Linked DNA regions of Homo sapiens: regions 1, 2, 4 and 5 are each linked to region 3. Evidence: promoter capture Hi-C in 16 types of primary human blood cells and fetal thymus (Javierre and others, 2016). All regions are on one chromosome and are shown on one strand. Each heading gives the region's core, a stretch centred on a gene start or on the middle of the fragment in contact. The rest is flanking DNA. Distances are from core to core; before and after follow the strand shown. Region 1 overlaps PPME1 (protein phosphatase methylesterase 1). Region 2 holds the start of LIPT2 (lipoyl(octanoyl) transferase 2). Region 3 holds the start of UCP2 (uncoupling protein 2). Region 4 overlaps P4HA3-AS1 (P4HA3 antisense RNA 1). Region 5 has its middle 21 kb from the start of KCNE3.

The links. Contacts are between HindIII fragments. The CHiCAGO score rates a contact against its expected background, and 5 or more counts as called.
Region 1: a fragment that was not itself captured here is called in contact with the fragment with the promoter of UCP2 in region 3 in 1 of 17 cell types (endothelial precursors); the score reaches 5.8 in endothelial precursors.
Region 2: a contact is called between the fragment with the promoter of LIPT2 here and the fragment with the promoter of UCP2 in region 3, in 1 of 17 cell types (fetal thymus). The highest score is 8.0, in fetal thymus.
Region 4: a contact is called between a fragment that was not itself captured here and the fragment with the promoter of UCP2 in region 3, in 1 of 17 cell types (endothelial precursors). The highest score is 5.8, in endothelial precursors.
Region 5: a contact is called between a fragment that was not itself captured here and the fragment with the promoter of UCP2 in region 3, in 1 of 17 cell types (endothelial precursors). The highest score is 5.4, in endothelial precursors.

Annotation. Positions count from the first base shown.
Region 1 is chr11:74,248,117-74,250,816 of GRCh38, forward strand. The region is part of intron 11 of PPME1 (protein phosphatase methylesterase 1); the gene reads left to right. It also overlaps a transcript of P4HA3 not described here. Among named protein-coding and RNA genes, the nearest start is that of P4HA3-AS1, 62 kb to the right of the region's middle. RefSeq lists a silencer at 2,348-2,642. The HindIII fragment of the contact is 2,059 bases long and covers 331-2,389 here.
Region 2 is chr11:74,492,423-74,495,122 of GRCh38, forward strand. It overlaps LIPT2 (lipoyl(octanoyl) transferase 2), which reads right to left and starts at 1,302. Exons shown (of 2, transcript NM_001144869.3): 1 at 816-1,302. The coding sequence starts at 1,281. It overlaps LIPT2-AS1 (LIPT2 antisense RNA 1), which reads left to right and starts at 958. Exons shown (of 2, transcript NR_171028.1): 1 at 958-1,551. RefSeq lists silencers at 1,068-1,177, 1,288-1,537. The HindIII fragment of the contact is 1,360 bases long and covers 195-1,554 here.
Region 3 is chr11:73,981,580-73,984,279 of GRCh38, forward strand. It overlaps UCP2 (uncoupling protein 2), which reads right to left and starts at 1,264. Exons shown (of 8, transcript NM_003355.3): 1 at 1,142-1,264; 2 at 1-53. RefSeq lists silencers at 1,175-1,384, 1,685-1,844 and an enhancer at 2,101-2,601. The HindIII fragment of the contact is 10,071 bases long and covers 1-2,700 here.
Region 4 is chr11:74,319,419-74,322,118 of GRCh38, forward strand. All of the region lies in intron 3 of P4HA3-AS1 (P4HA3 antisense RNA 1), which reads left to right. Among named protein-coding and RNA genes, the nearest start is that of P4HA3, 9.1 kb to the left of the region's middle. The HindIII fragment of the contact is 2,023 bases long and covers 359-2,381 here.
Region 5 is chr11:74,444,949-74,447,648 of GRCh38, forward strand. No RefSeq gene overlaps it. Among named protein-coding and RNA genes, the nearest start is that of KCNE3, 21 kb to the right of the region's middle. The HindIII fragment of the contact is 3,014 bases long and covers 1-2,700 here.

The sequences.
Region 1 (2,700 bases), core at 110-2,609, 270 kb after region 3:
AGGCAGCGGGTCCAATTTTGTGGGGGCTCTTGCTTTAGTACGGGTAAAAGACTCAGTGAAGGTGAAGCCAGTAGGCATACAACTTTTGGGTTATGGGAAGAAGAGGTGCCAACTCCAAGACCAAAGTTTCAGGCTCAGGCAGAATCTGTTCTAGACCTTTCTTCCCTACTTACTCTCCCTGGACAATTTCATGGCTTCCATTTATATATTGATGACTCCCAAAGCTAAACATCCACCTCACCCCTCTCTCCTGAGATCCAGTCCTAGCCTATGTAGCAAACCTGCTGGATATCTCATGGGCCTCTCAAACTGTTCTTTTAGCTATCCTCAAGCTTTCCACAGCAAAAGGAGCTATATTCTCTCATAATAGTTGTTCAAAGGCTCTCACATATAAAACTCTGGTCCCAGACCTTCATGGCTTTGCCTTCCTTTAACTACATTGTATCCTGAGGCCTAGAATAGGACTATGAGCTGGGACTGTGTGATTTTTTTTCCATGGCACTGATGTTGGTAATTATGGGCTTAGACACTTATTTAAGTAGATGCTTATAAATGTCTAAGCCCGTAATTACCAACATGAGTGCCATGAAATTGAATCTAAGACACTTAAGTTCAATTCAAGAAACCTTTCCTAGGCACCCTTTCTGTGCAAGACCTATGCATGATGCTGGGCAGACAGAAGAATCAGATATGGCCCCTGAGACTGCCTGAAGGCAGTTGACATGGACTGGGATAGCATTTGAAATCATTGTTGATCACCAGCCTTGGAATCAGACAATCCTGGGTTTGAATCACTGTTAATAGTTTTGCGGTATGAGTGAATTCCTAACTTATTTAATTTTGAGTTTCTTCATCTGTGAAATGGAGATAATGATATATCTCAGTACAGTTACATGAAGTTTAAATGAAAAAAATGCGGGTAGTCTAACAAATGATGCCTTTCATTATATTCAGGAAGTAATCACGATTCCTTATGAGATGTCCTCCTGTTTCCTCAATATGGATTATATCAAGACCACCTTCTGGTTTAAAGAAAGCCTCCTATGAGTATAGAGAGTAAATGGCGAGGATAAGGAACATTCCACAGAACAAAGGGAAATGGCTAAGGCTGCATAGATTCCAAACCACAGCTTTGCCAGCACTGTGTTCAAACCAACTGACTTAGTTATGAAATCCTGGAAAACTACCACCTATTCATAGTACCCCTTGGGTAAATAATTTAGGCTCTCTGAACCTAAGGCTCCTAATCTGTGCAATGGGAGAGAAGAGTTTGGAAATATTCCCACCTCATAGAATAATCATGAGGATTACCCATGAACATGTTATTTTATGTGTACCTGGCACAGTGTTGTTGGTGTATGTGAGTTCTCTCTGATTATACCTACTCTTCCAAAGAGGAAGGACAAATGCGTCCCTAGTCATCAGAGCTGATCTAACAGAAAGAACAGGGAGATTGGAGTTGTAAGTTTTGGATCTAGTCATTTGTTCATCATTCATTCGCTAAAGACTTAAGCATCTACTCAGTGCCCTACCCTGTGTTAGGTCTTATTAGGGATATAGAGCAAGTAATAACACCATTGTCCCCTGTTCTTATGGAAATGACACACTCCTGGGGAGGCAAGCACCAGTGGCATGTAAAATGTAAACTTACTTGAAACTTACAAGAGGGCCATGTGCTGCTCTGTGTTTGGATCCAAGTGCATTAACAACTTTAGGAGCTAGAAGGGAGAGGTGACTAGGCTTGAGCACCCAGAGAGAGGCAGCTTACTGCAGGAGGAGGGGCACAGGATGGACTTTACTAAATGGGATCATCTTATTCCTCCACTAATTAATGAAGTGGCCTTGGGCAGGTTACTTCACTAATCATGGCCTCAGTTTCATCATCTCAGAAAAGAATTTCAGTATTTTTGTGCTTAATTGTATAGGGTAGATTTTGAGAATCAACTTTAAAAATGGATAGAAGAATACACTGAAAACTTTTGAATCCTGCGTAACTGGGGTAAGAACCACAGGATGTAATGACCAGAAGAACTTTCAAGCCCATTCCTTTATTTTATAAATAGAGAATCTGAGGCTGAGAAAATCTGCTGTCTCTACTTATGGGGGCTCTGGGTCTCATATCCTTTAGTCTCCTTAGGGATCTTCTTTATCAGTCATCGCTGTTCATTCTCAATCATTGTCGCATTAGTTACGAGCTTACAGTGTTCTGTAAGACAGTATGAGAAAGTGCTTAGTACAATGCCTGGCACATGCTTAAGTGCTCAGATGGTAACTTATTATTGTAATAATACATTTTGAATCCTTAACATAGCTTACAAAATCCTTAATGGTTTGGCCCCTGCTTACCTCTCCAGCCTTATTGTTAACCACTCTCATAAGCACCATGCCAAGCTTCTTGTATTCCAAGCCATTTCAAGCCTTCCTTCCTTCCTGGTTCCCTCTTGGATTGTGAAGTTCCCTTTCTTATGCTCTTACAGCCCCATGTAGCCAGTTTTATCATAGGAATGACATGCTGCATTAAAATGTTGGTTTTTGTGTTTTACTCCCCTACTGGACTGTAAATCCCCTGAGGACAAGAACTGTTTCTTCTATGTGTCTCTGGCCCACAGTAAATGTACACTAAATAGGACAGAAGGAAAAAGTGAAGGGAAATGATTGGCGCAAGGTTACAATTACTTGTATTACCATCCTCAGCAAGAC
Region 2 (2,700 bases), core at 52-2,551, 510 kb after region 3:
TCCCTCTCAGGGCGATGAGAAAACTGGATTAGATCACCGGTTTTCAAATTTTGTTTCTGGAGAAACAAGGGATTGTACTCAGATGGGAAAAGGAAACAAATGAAAGGAAGGGGTGCGTGGCTTCAAGCAGCTGCACTCATCATGAGGATTCCAGGAAATGTCTTTTAACAGATTCCAATACTTAAAAAAAAAAAAGCTTGGGGACAGGCGCAGTGGCTCACGCCTGTAATCCCAGCATTTTGGGAGGCCGAGGCGGGCGGATCACGAGGTCAGGAGATCGTGACCATCCTGGCTAACACGGTGAAACCCCATCTCTACTAAAAATACAAAAAATTAGCCGGGCTGGTGGTGGGCGCCTGTAGCCCCAGCTACTCTGGAGGCTGAGGCAGGAGAATGGCGTGAACCCGGGAGGCGGAGCTTGCAGTGGGCCGAGATTGCGCCACTGCACTCCAGCCTGGGTGACAAAGCGAGACTCTGTCTCAAAAAAAAAAAAAAAAAAAAGTTTGAAAATTAGCACCCTTATTTGCCATGACATTGTCATTCGCAGGACGTAACCTGGCAATTCACTTCTCTTGTCTCTCCCTTAACAGAAATGCGTGTTGGACTAGATGTGAGGAGCCTTCTGCTTCTGAATATACGATATCTGAAAAGGGGCTTAAAAACTCAAACGCAGCGGGTAGCTGTGATTCAAAACCCGCGCTAGATACGCCTCCTCCCGGCCCTCACCTCCGTTGGTCCAGCCCCGTCAGACCCCGCCCCCAGGCCTCAAGCTCCGACCTCGGCTCTCAGGTACCGCCCTGCTCCGCGGCGCTCACCGATCGCGCAGATCTTGCGATCGTCTAGCCAGACGCCAGTGTAGGGCGGGGGCCGCGCGCGGGCGTCCTGCAGGCCCTGGAGCTCGCACAGGCGCACGGCGCACGCCTCCAGCGACGCTACGTGCATGCGCAAGCGCAGGCCGAGACGCCGCAGGTCGAGTACCGGGTGGCAAAGCAGCTGGCCCGGGCCGTGGAAGGTGGCCAGGCCACCGCGGCCTGTGACGCGCACCTCGGCGCCCAAGGCCCGTAGCCGCGCAGTTTCCTCGGGCGTCAGGCCGCCGCGCAGCCCGGCCGTATACACGGGCCCCGCGGGCTCGCAGAGCAGGAGCGCGCCCGCCTCAGTCCCCGACGGGGCCTCAATGCCTGGCTCGGCCTGCAGCCGCCGCAGCCAGCGGTCCTGCAGCCCCAGTAGCTCGGCGTACGGCACCCGACCCAGGCGCACCAACCGAACGGCGGGTTGCCGCATCGTGCCCACCGTTGCGTCCGCGGGGCCCCGCCCTCTCCGTGGGCCTGGGGGCGTGGCCTGAGGGGCGGGGACTCGGGGGCACACCCCGAGCCGCAGCTCCCAGGTGCGTGTTAAAAGCTGGAGGGGGGATATGTGATCCCAGGACCAAAAGCGCGGGGCCAGACTCATCGGTTCATTCAACAACCAGTATTTAGTGCCTGCTGTGTTCTGCAGGCCCTGCCATAGGCGCTTGATACAGCGGTGCATAGCGTATGAGAAAGATCTGTCCTGGTAAGCTTACATTCTTACAGCAGACGATAAGTATTTTAAGTGTTAAGTAAATAAGGTTATTTCACGTATAAGGTGTTAAATGCTATGAAAAGAAAAATAAAACAGGGTAACGTGGTGTGTCCTGTGTTGAGCCCCTGGGGGACGCAAGAGGGAGATTAGCTTGCCTACAAGGTTATTGGTGGAGGTAGGGAGAACTTAAAGATCAGCACCTGTAAGAAAGTGAAGGAAGCAGGAATTTGTAGGCAGAGGAAGAAGTTGGCCTGCAAAACAGTTGCAGCAGAGGCCTTGACCAATCCCAAGGCATGCTTGGAGCCTAGGATGACCCTTCAGAGTAGTTCCACATTAAAGCAAGGGGGCCAGAAACTCTTATCCTTGCATTGACCAGTCATGGATACAGGCTACACCTGGGGAGGAGCTGTGATTTTTTTTTTTTTTTTTTTTTTGGCAAGACTGCTTCCCTCGGTGGAGGGCGGCCCCCAGAGAAGGACTCAGTTGTGTATCATCAGTAACCAACTCCAGAAGCTGAGGGAATGACTGTCTAGGCCCTGAGGGGGTGTCTGGACCACAACATCAGCTATGTTGCAGTTAGAGTATCATTTAAACAAGTCTGAATTCAATGAATTTTTACTGAGGACTTTTCAGACACCATAGGTGTCTGAAAAACATTTCATAAACATAGACATAAAGATCCTAAGCAAATATTAGCAAATCAAATCCAGCAATTTATAAAAGGATTAATACATCATGATGAAGTAGGGTTTATCCCGGGAATGCAAGGTTGGTTTTGCATTCTGAAATCAAACAATGTAATTTACCTTAAAAGAGAAAAGCCTTCATTGGAAGAAATAATAAAAATTTTTTTTAAAGAAAAGCTATGATTATGTTAAAAAATACAGATAAATCTATTGGCAAAAATAAACACCTCTTCTGACCAAAATACTTAGCAATCTAGGAATAGAAGAGAAATTTTCCAGTCTGATGAAGGGTTCAAATTATCAATCAGGGTTTGGACAAGAGAAATCACATATGTACTATTTTAATTAAATGTTTTATTTGAGAAAATTGGACACTCATATGCAGTTGTAAGGAATAATATGGACAGATTATATGTACCCTTTACCCAGCTTCCCCCAATGGAAACACCTTGCA
Region 3 (2,700 bases), core at 14-2,513:
TTTCCATAGAAAATGGGTGGGAGACGAAACACCTAATGGTCATACTATGTGTCCTGTGGGTGAGCAAAGGCAGAGAGTTTAGAAAGGGCCACCTGCCCCAAGACACACAAGCCCACCCAATCCATGCCTTGGAGGGGGATGGGGAACAGGGCCCAGGGACTGGTTAAGTGCACACACTGGAAAGGGGAAAAGCAGGGCGGAAAATGAACCTAGGTACACTCCCCACCCCCACCCCACCTGCTTAATATCACAAATTGGTTCTCATCCAGACTTCTGCTTTTGTAACACTCAGTACTCTATATAAGCACCCCCTAGCACAGTCATCAGACTTTGGTGAGTGGGAGAGTTGTGAGGGGGTCACGATGGGACAGAGACTCTCCGGGAATTGGCTAGGTCCCAGGTCGGGCTGTGAGGAGGTTGGAAGGGCTGGGAGCCGGCCCTGCAGAGGCCAGATTGAGCAGCTCAAAGCCCACTAGAAAAAGCCCCCAAGCCCTGGGAAAGGCGGTGCAGGAACACTGCCTGGAGCTGCCTGGTAAGGGAGAGGTCATTGTGGTCATCGCTGATGGTCCCCATCCAAGGCAGGGCTCGGCATCGTGGTGGAAAGGAGGGAGTGAAAAGGTGGAGGCTCAAACGACAGCCAACTGAACGGGAGAGGGAAAGAACAAAAGGGACTAAGAAAAAGAGAGAAGAGAAATAAAGAACCAAGGACAGAAAGGATTAGCACAGGCCGGACCCGGAGGCTCATGCCTAAAATTCTAGGACTTTGTGAGGCCGAGGCGGGCGGATTGCTTGAGCTCAGCAGTTCGAGGCCAGCCTGGCCAACATGGCGAAACCCCATCTCTACAAAACACAAAAATTAGCCAGGCGTGGTGGCGGGCGCCTGTAATCCCAGCTACTCGGCAGGCGGATCGCTTGAACCTGGGAGGTGGAGGCTGCAGTGAGCCGAGATCGCGCCACTGCACTCCAGCCTGGGAGACAGAGCGAAAGCCTGTCTCAAACAAACAAACAAAAACAAAAAATAAAACCGAGAGAAAGAAAAGAGTACAAACTTGGGTGGGAGAGAAGGTAAATGGAAGAGCGGGCAGCGCACGCAGAACAAGCGTGGGGGGCGCAAAGGGCGCAGGGCTGGGGCCAGGCTCACCGAGCCGCAGGGAGAACACGGCAGTGCGTGCGGCTGTGTCTGTCGGCTGGCGGAGGGCGCGTCGGACGAGCCGGGCGAGCGTGGACAGTCAATCCCAAGGCGCGCGCAGCTGGGCTTCGCAGTGGGGCTCCGCGCAGGCGGCGGCGCGGCTTAAGCCTCGGGGGCGGGGCCCGGGGTGGGGCCTGCGGGGCGGGGCCGGGCCTGCCAGCTCCTACTTGGGTGCGGAGACCCTGGAGCAGCCGCCTTTCCGCGGGGACCGCCCCGCCTAGGGTTCTCTCCATGACTTTCTCCACTCCCGTTTCCGTGCGTCCCATCACCGCGTTTACTCCTTCGTTCCCCGAGATGGTCACTCCCTTGCCACTCCCCGCCTCTGCCTCACACTCTCTCGGGCCGCCAACCTCTGTGAGGATGGCAAGACTGACCGCCAGAAACAAGTCTTGTCCAGTCACACACCTCTTGCCTTCCCAGCCAGGACGGTTTCTAACAGCGTCCAGCGGGGCCGTGTCTTAAGTGCACTTCCTCTTTTATGGGCCCAGCCCCCCTACGCTGGGCAAACTACCCACCCTCCTGCGAGCGAGCGCGCGGCTGGCTCCTGCAGGGCGGGACTGGGGCCTCGCGACCGGCCTCGCTGTCGATTGGTTACAGCCGCCGCGTTGTCGGGGGAAGGAACCAATCAGAACTGCAGCAACAGGTGGCCCGGCAACCGACAACAGCCGTTGGGCTCGGCTGGGGTTCGCGCCTTCTCCCCCGGTGGAGCGGCCTGGCGTTTAGGGACCAGGACACTAAAGGCCCCGGCGGGGCGGGAGCACCCAGCGTGACCTCACGCTCCTACACACAGACAAGCAAACGGGCCGGCCCCCGCACGTGACAAGGCAGAGCCGGGCCCAGGCCAGCTGCCTGTCCAGCCCTGGGATGAGAAAAGGCGTCAGGAGATGGACCGGGCCTGGTTCGCCTTTAATTGGCTGACCCGTCCTGTGGGGGTAACTGACGCGTGAACAGCCAACAATTGGGCCCTCTGGCCGGGACAAACACGTGCGTTTGGGGAGTAGAAGAAGGCTGGTATTAACCTCCATTTTACAATGAGGAAACGGAGTCCCAAAGACGTTCAGTCATCTTCCTGATATTCACACACTTACACCCTGGTCAGGCCGGCGCCATATGTGTTTTCACCAGCAGAAGGGACTGCCAGGGAACAGCTGAGGGGACCAGAGCTGGGATGGGCCTGGATAATTATAGCGGAAAGAAAAACACGCCGAGCGCATGGTCCTGGCAGAAGCAGCGTGGAAACAGAAGTCAAGGCAGATTATTTCTGCCATGAGGAGATCTTGCCATGTAGGAAAAAAGAAAGAAAGAGAGGAAAGAAAGACAGAGAGAGAGAGAGGAAAGACAGAAAGACAAGAAAGAAAGAGAAAGAAAGAAAAGAAAAAAAAAAAGAAAAGATAAAGTTTTTTTGTGGCACTGTGAGTCTCCCTCCGCCAGGTTCTCTAGCTTTTGCGCTGAGCTCTGTCTGGCTGTGCATTCCGGAGAGGCTCGGCAAATTTGCTGTGAGATTGCTGAGC
Region 4 (2,700 bases), core at 120-2,619, 340 kb after region 3:
GTCTGCAGACTAGGTTCAAGTCTTCATATTATTCAAAACACACCCTGTATTTTCCCTTGGTAGCATTTATGACAATTATAATTTTTTATTTGGGCCAGGCACAGTGGCTCACGCCTGTAAACCCAGCACTTTGGGAAGCTGAGGCAGGAGGATCACTTGAAGCCAGGAGTTCGAGACCAGCCTGGGCAACAGTGAGACCCCGTTTCCACAGAAAAGTTAAAAATTATCTGATTGTGGAGATGTGTGCCTGTAGTCCCAGCTAGGAGGCTGAGGTGGGAGGATTGCTTGAGTCCAGGAGGTTGAGGCTACAGTGAGCCAGAATTGCGCTACTGCACTCCAGTTTAGGTAACAGAGTGAAAGCTTGTCTCAGAATAATAATGATAATAATAATAATAACTATTATTATTACTTCTTATTTGTATAATTAATGGCTGTCTGCTACACTAGATCATATACTTCATATAGGTGAGATGGTTCCTAGCTGAGTGCCTGGCAATTGCAAGTACTCGTTTAAAAATATAGAATAGACTAGGCATGGAGGCTCAGGCCTGCAATCCCAACACTTTGGGAGGCCCAGGAGTTCAAGACCAGCCTGGGTAACGTAGAGAGACAAAAATAAAAATATTAGCCAGGAGTGGTGGTGCATGCCTGTGGTGCGAGCTACTTGGGAGGCTGAGAAAGGAGGTTGGGAGATCAAGGCTACAGTGAGTCATGATTGTGCCACTGCACTACAGCCTGGGCAAGGTAGCAAGACTCTGTCTCAAGAAAATAATTCTGTTTTTTTTTTTTTTTTTTTTTTTTTTTTGGAGACGGAGTCCTCCTCTGTCCCCCAGGCTGGAGTGTAGTCGCGTGATCTTGGCTCACTGCAACCTCCACCTCCCAGGTTCAAGCAATTCTCCTGCCTCAGCCTCCCAAGCAGCTGGGACTACAGGCGCCCACCACCATGCCTGGCTAATTTTTTTGTATTGTTTAGTAGAGACAGGGTTTCACCGTGTTGCCCAGGCTGGTTTTGAACTCCTGAGCTCAGGCAATCTGCCCACCTCGGCCTCCCAAAGTGTTAGGATTACAGGCGTGGGCCACCACACCCAGCCAAGAAAATAAAAATGAAAATAAGAGAATAGATAAATAAAGTAGAAAGAGCATTCAAAACAATCCTGTTAATCTCTTTATCAAGTGTCTCTAGTGCCAGTCTTCTTCCAAATCTTTTGAATTGCCTGTCCTCATCATAAGCCTATGAAGTATGTATTGTCCTGCATTTTACAGTTGAGAAAACCAGTTTATGGAAATGAAGTGACTCAGCTGCAAGACGGTAAGCCCAGGGTCCCCAGCTCTCAGTCGAGTGCTCTTTCCATTGCATCATTACTTCACATTGCTCATTATCAGTTCCTGGGTTAGCCTCCCTTCTACATCCAAGGAATATTTCCAGGGGACTCACATCACCTCAGTTTCTCCTTTATATTATGAAAGGATGAAACCAATAGATCAGTGTTTCTCAGTGTGGTCCACAGTCTATTTGCAACAGAATTATTCAGGTAAATGTGGATGTTCTTATGAAAAATTCAGATTCCAAGGTCCACCCAGATTCATTGAATCAGACTGTAAGAGGGTGGAAGACAGGCAAAGTCCAGGAAATCTGCATTTATAACAGGCTCTTGAGGTGATTCTTACACACATCCGAGTTGAGAACACTTCATTAGGTGATCTTCAAAGTTCCTTTCCGCTTTGACAGTCTTTGCTTCTAAGACATTAAGTTTGGGGGGCATGTCTTTGCATCTCTATCATCTTTTACAGAGCCTGGAACTCAATATATTTTTAGTAAACTAATACATTTGTATTCGAAAGACCCAGATTCAAGTCCCTGCTTAGGTAGGTACCAGCTGTGATTCCTTGGGAAAATTACTTAACGTTCTAGAAATATCATTTTTAAGATGGAAATAATAACAATCTCTATCCTGGCTGCCAACATCTGATGTGGAAGATAAATTAAATCATGTTTGTGAAAGCTGTTATGGTGGTTCCAAGTTGAAGAACCACTACAGGCATAAAGTGGGCACCAAGCAGGGGTTACTAAGTCCTTCAGACTCACGGGTGGCTCACATACAGCTCTCTCCAGTGGACTGAATGGGGAGCTTATTAAAACACAAAATAAAACCACTACCACCTTTGAAAAATCACATTTCCATTCGAAGTAGGTAGAGTCTTTCCATGGAAATAACGTGATTTTTTAAGACTCCGAGGCATTGCCACAGTGACCCCTAGTGGAGCTTATAGGCCAGCTCAAACCCACCATCCTAGTCCCACATTTGCTGTTGGCTTAGCGGAGAGATCAATTTATTAATTCAATACATCTGTTCTTCACATAGGCTAGGAAATTTTTGTGAAGCTTCTCTTTGTCCTCAGAGTCTAGCATTCATTCATCCATTCAATTATTACTGAGCATCCCGGGTGCCAGCTGCTGTGCTTGGCCCCAGAGGGACCCAGCAGACATTGGGATCCTCACCCTCAGAGCCAGGTGGGGACAAGTTAAGTAGTGGAGACAGAGAAGCAAACAGCCAACAACAAGAGTGACACATGCTCCAAAAGAGGAAGTGCACGGAACTACGGAAGCCACTTTCTTTGGCAAAATCTCAATGATCTGTTTTGAGAATAAGCATAGCACATTGAGGGATGAATGGCAAAAATGAGGCATGAAGTGTAAAC
Region 5 (2,700 bases), core at 147-2,646, 460 kb after region 3:
TTCCACTGGTGAGGGTGGGGCTGCTGCTGTGCCAAGTGCAATACTTTTTGTACACTCAACAAAAAATTGTAATAAATGTACATTTGGGGCTCCGTTTGAGCTTAAATTATGTCCACTTTTGGAATTCACACAGGTGTGGGTATTCGTGATATGGCAGCCACCAGGAGTGAGCTGTTCAGGTCTCCCACAGGGAGCCTGCTGGGAGAAGAGCAGTTAGTGGCCGGCCTCAGGCAGCAGCACCTTTGGGCTCTCCTGCAGTGTTTACACCCCGGTTATGCTCACCCTGGCCTTCTCCCTGCCACTGACCAAGCTCTGCAGACGTATGAAAGTCAAGCCATTCCTGCCCAACATGGGACTCCTGTAATGGGCAGTCTCTGCTCTGGGGCTCCTCATCAGCCTGGCTGAGACTTTCTCAGAGCTGCATTGAAACCTGACGCTCCTCCTGCCTGGTCCTTCTTCCTTCCCTCTTTTTTTCGCTGGTGTCAGATCTGCATCACCATCTGAGGCTCCCGCATCTACTCCTGCTCCCTCACAGGCATTCCCCGCCCCAGTACATTTCTGGCACTTCTCACTCCATTTTGGCATCTGCTTCCTGGAGGAACCAATTGGGCATATTCGACCTAGTAGGCCCAACTCACCCAAAGTCCATTTTTTGTGAGGGCTTTGGGTCTCTCCTGGGAGAGAACTCATCTTAAGGAAAGTAAGGAGATAGGCAACATGGATCCAGTAATAGAATCTTCAAAATCAAGGAGGAATGAGCCAACATTTAACATTAGGTTTGTCATACAGATTTGTTTCTTGACCTTGCTGCAGCTCAGGCTTAGGAATTTGTAGAGGGAAACTGGGGTTAGGAAGGAATCAGCAAAATATAGAAGAGCTGCTTTACTGAAAGCAAAGGACATAAATATTACCCATTAGAAACCCATGTGACAAAGTATAGCACGATGGGGAGAGAGAGTTTCCTCACCTCCATGCATTCCATGTAACAGATGCTATGTACTGGGAACTCCAGAAGTGTCCAAGTCACCTGGCATCTCATCAATTCAGCATGTGAGAATCACTCTCCAGGCCTCTCAGAAATTAAGAGGTGCATTTCTCAGGGAACTAGGGTCCTTGGTTAATAGGCAGAGGCAATAGGTCGCAAAACTGTATATAAATTTGAATCACAGACTATTATAGCTGAAAGGAACTATAGTTCCTTTCCCTATAGATTCTGTATAGATTTCATCCATCCATATAGACTGGATGATCTATAGTAATCATCCAATCTGCTGATTTTCAAACTACATTCCATAGAGATTCTCAAAGTCCTGGGGGGAGAGTGCTACAGATGAAATAATGGTAGTTCAACAAAGGGAGAAATTAATTTAATTTGATGCAAGAAGGTATTTGATAAAAGCAAAGTGACGAGCTGATGAATTGATCAATTTAGGTCAAACAGCTAATAAATGAAGGTGCTGAGATAAGAATCCTGATTTCCCAGCTTCTTATGTGACTTTATAGGGGACTTTGGCTATTACTTTTGCAATGTGATGTCTGTGAGCAAATTACCCAGAATGGAAAGAATTTTGGGATCCTAGTGTATGTTTTGTCTGTGTTCTACTCTTGGGAGAGAGGCATATTGCATCTGCCTTATGGATGCAGCTGGGTGACTCTAAACAAGTGTGCTTTTCCTGGAGTCTGGTTTTCATTATCTTTATATCCTCAGGCTCACAAGTCAGCTGGGACAGGGATGCTGACAGAAAGGACTAGTGGAAATAATATATTTGCTTCTAATTTAGAATAAAAACAACCACACCCCACAGATCAAAACCCATGGAAACTTCCATCACCCTGGGGCAGTGTTTAGAGTGGCATTTCTGAAAGAGTTCTGAGAGACGCTTAATATGCTCCTGCAAAAGGGTCCCACATCAAATACTTTTGTGCAATGTTTCATATTATATCCCTGTCTTGGAGACTCCTGTTGCACATAAAAGTCTCTGAAGAGCTCTGCAAAAGATGTCTCTTTAATCTTAATCCAGTGTTTTATAAACTTGCTTGTTGATGGAAACTTTTATACATGGAATATCTATTATCATCATATAGAACACAGGCTTTGGAAATGCTGGGTAAAGACCACTGGCTAGGAACAAAGGAGGTCTGGTTGTGGTCTTGGCTCTGGTACTAAGTTGTGTTCCCCCCCTCCACCAAGAAGGAGTCTTGCTCTATTGCCCAGGCTGGAGTGCAGTAGGGTGAACTCAGCTCACTGCAACCTCTGCCTCCCGGATTCAAGCGATTCTCCTGTCTTAGCCTCCTGAGTAGCTGGGATCACAGGCACATGCCACTGAACCTGGCTAATTTTTTAATTTTTAATAGAGACGGTGTTTCACCAGGTTGGCCAGGCTGGTCTCGAACTCCTGACCTCATGATCTACCCACCTTGGCCTCCCAAAGTGCTGGGATTACAGGTATGAGCCCCCGTGCCCGGCCCTGATTTGCATTTTTAAACTCTTCTTTGGACTCCAGTTTCCTCATCTGCAAAAGGAGAGGGTTATAATCAGTGATCTAGAGAGAAAAAGGACTACAATTTATTGCAGACCCACTCTGTGCCAGGCTGTGGATGTGCCACCATGGCCTATGCTTACAAGGGCCCCCACACTTGGTTTAATACTCTGCTGTCACCATCTTTAAATTATCGGTAATTTTTGAACAAGGTGCCAGC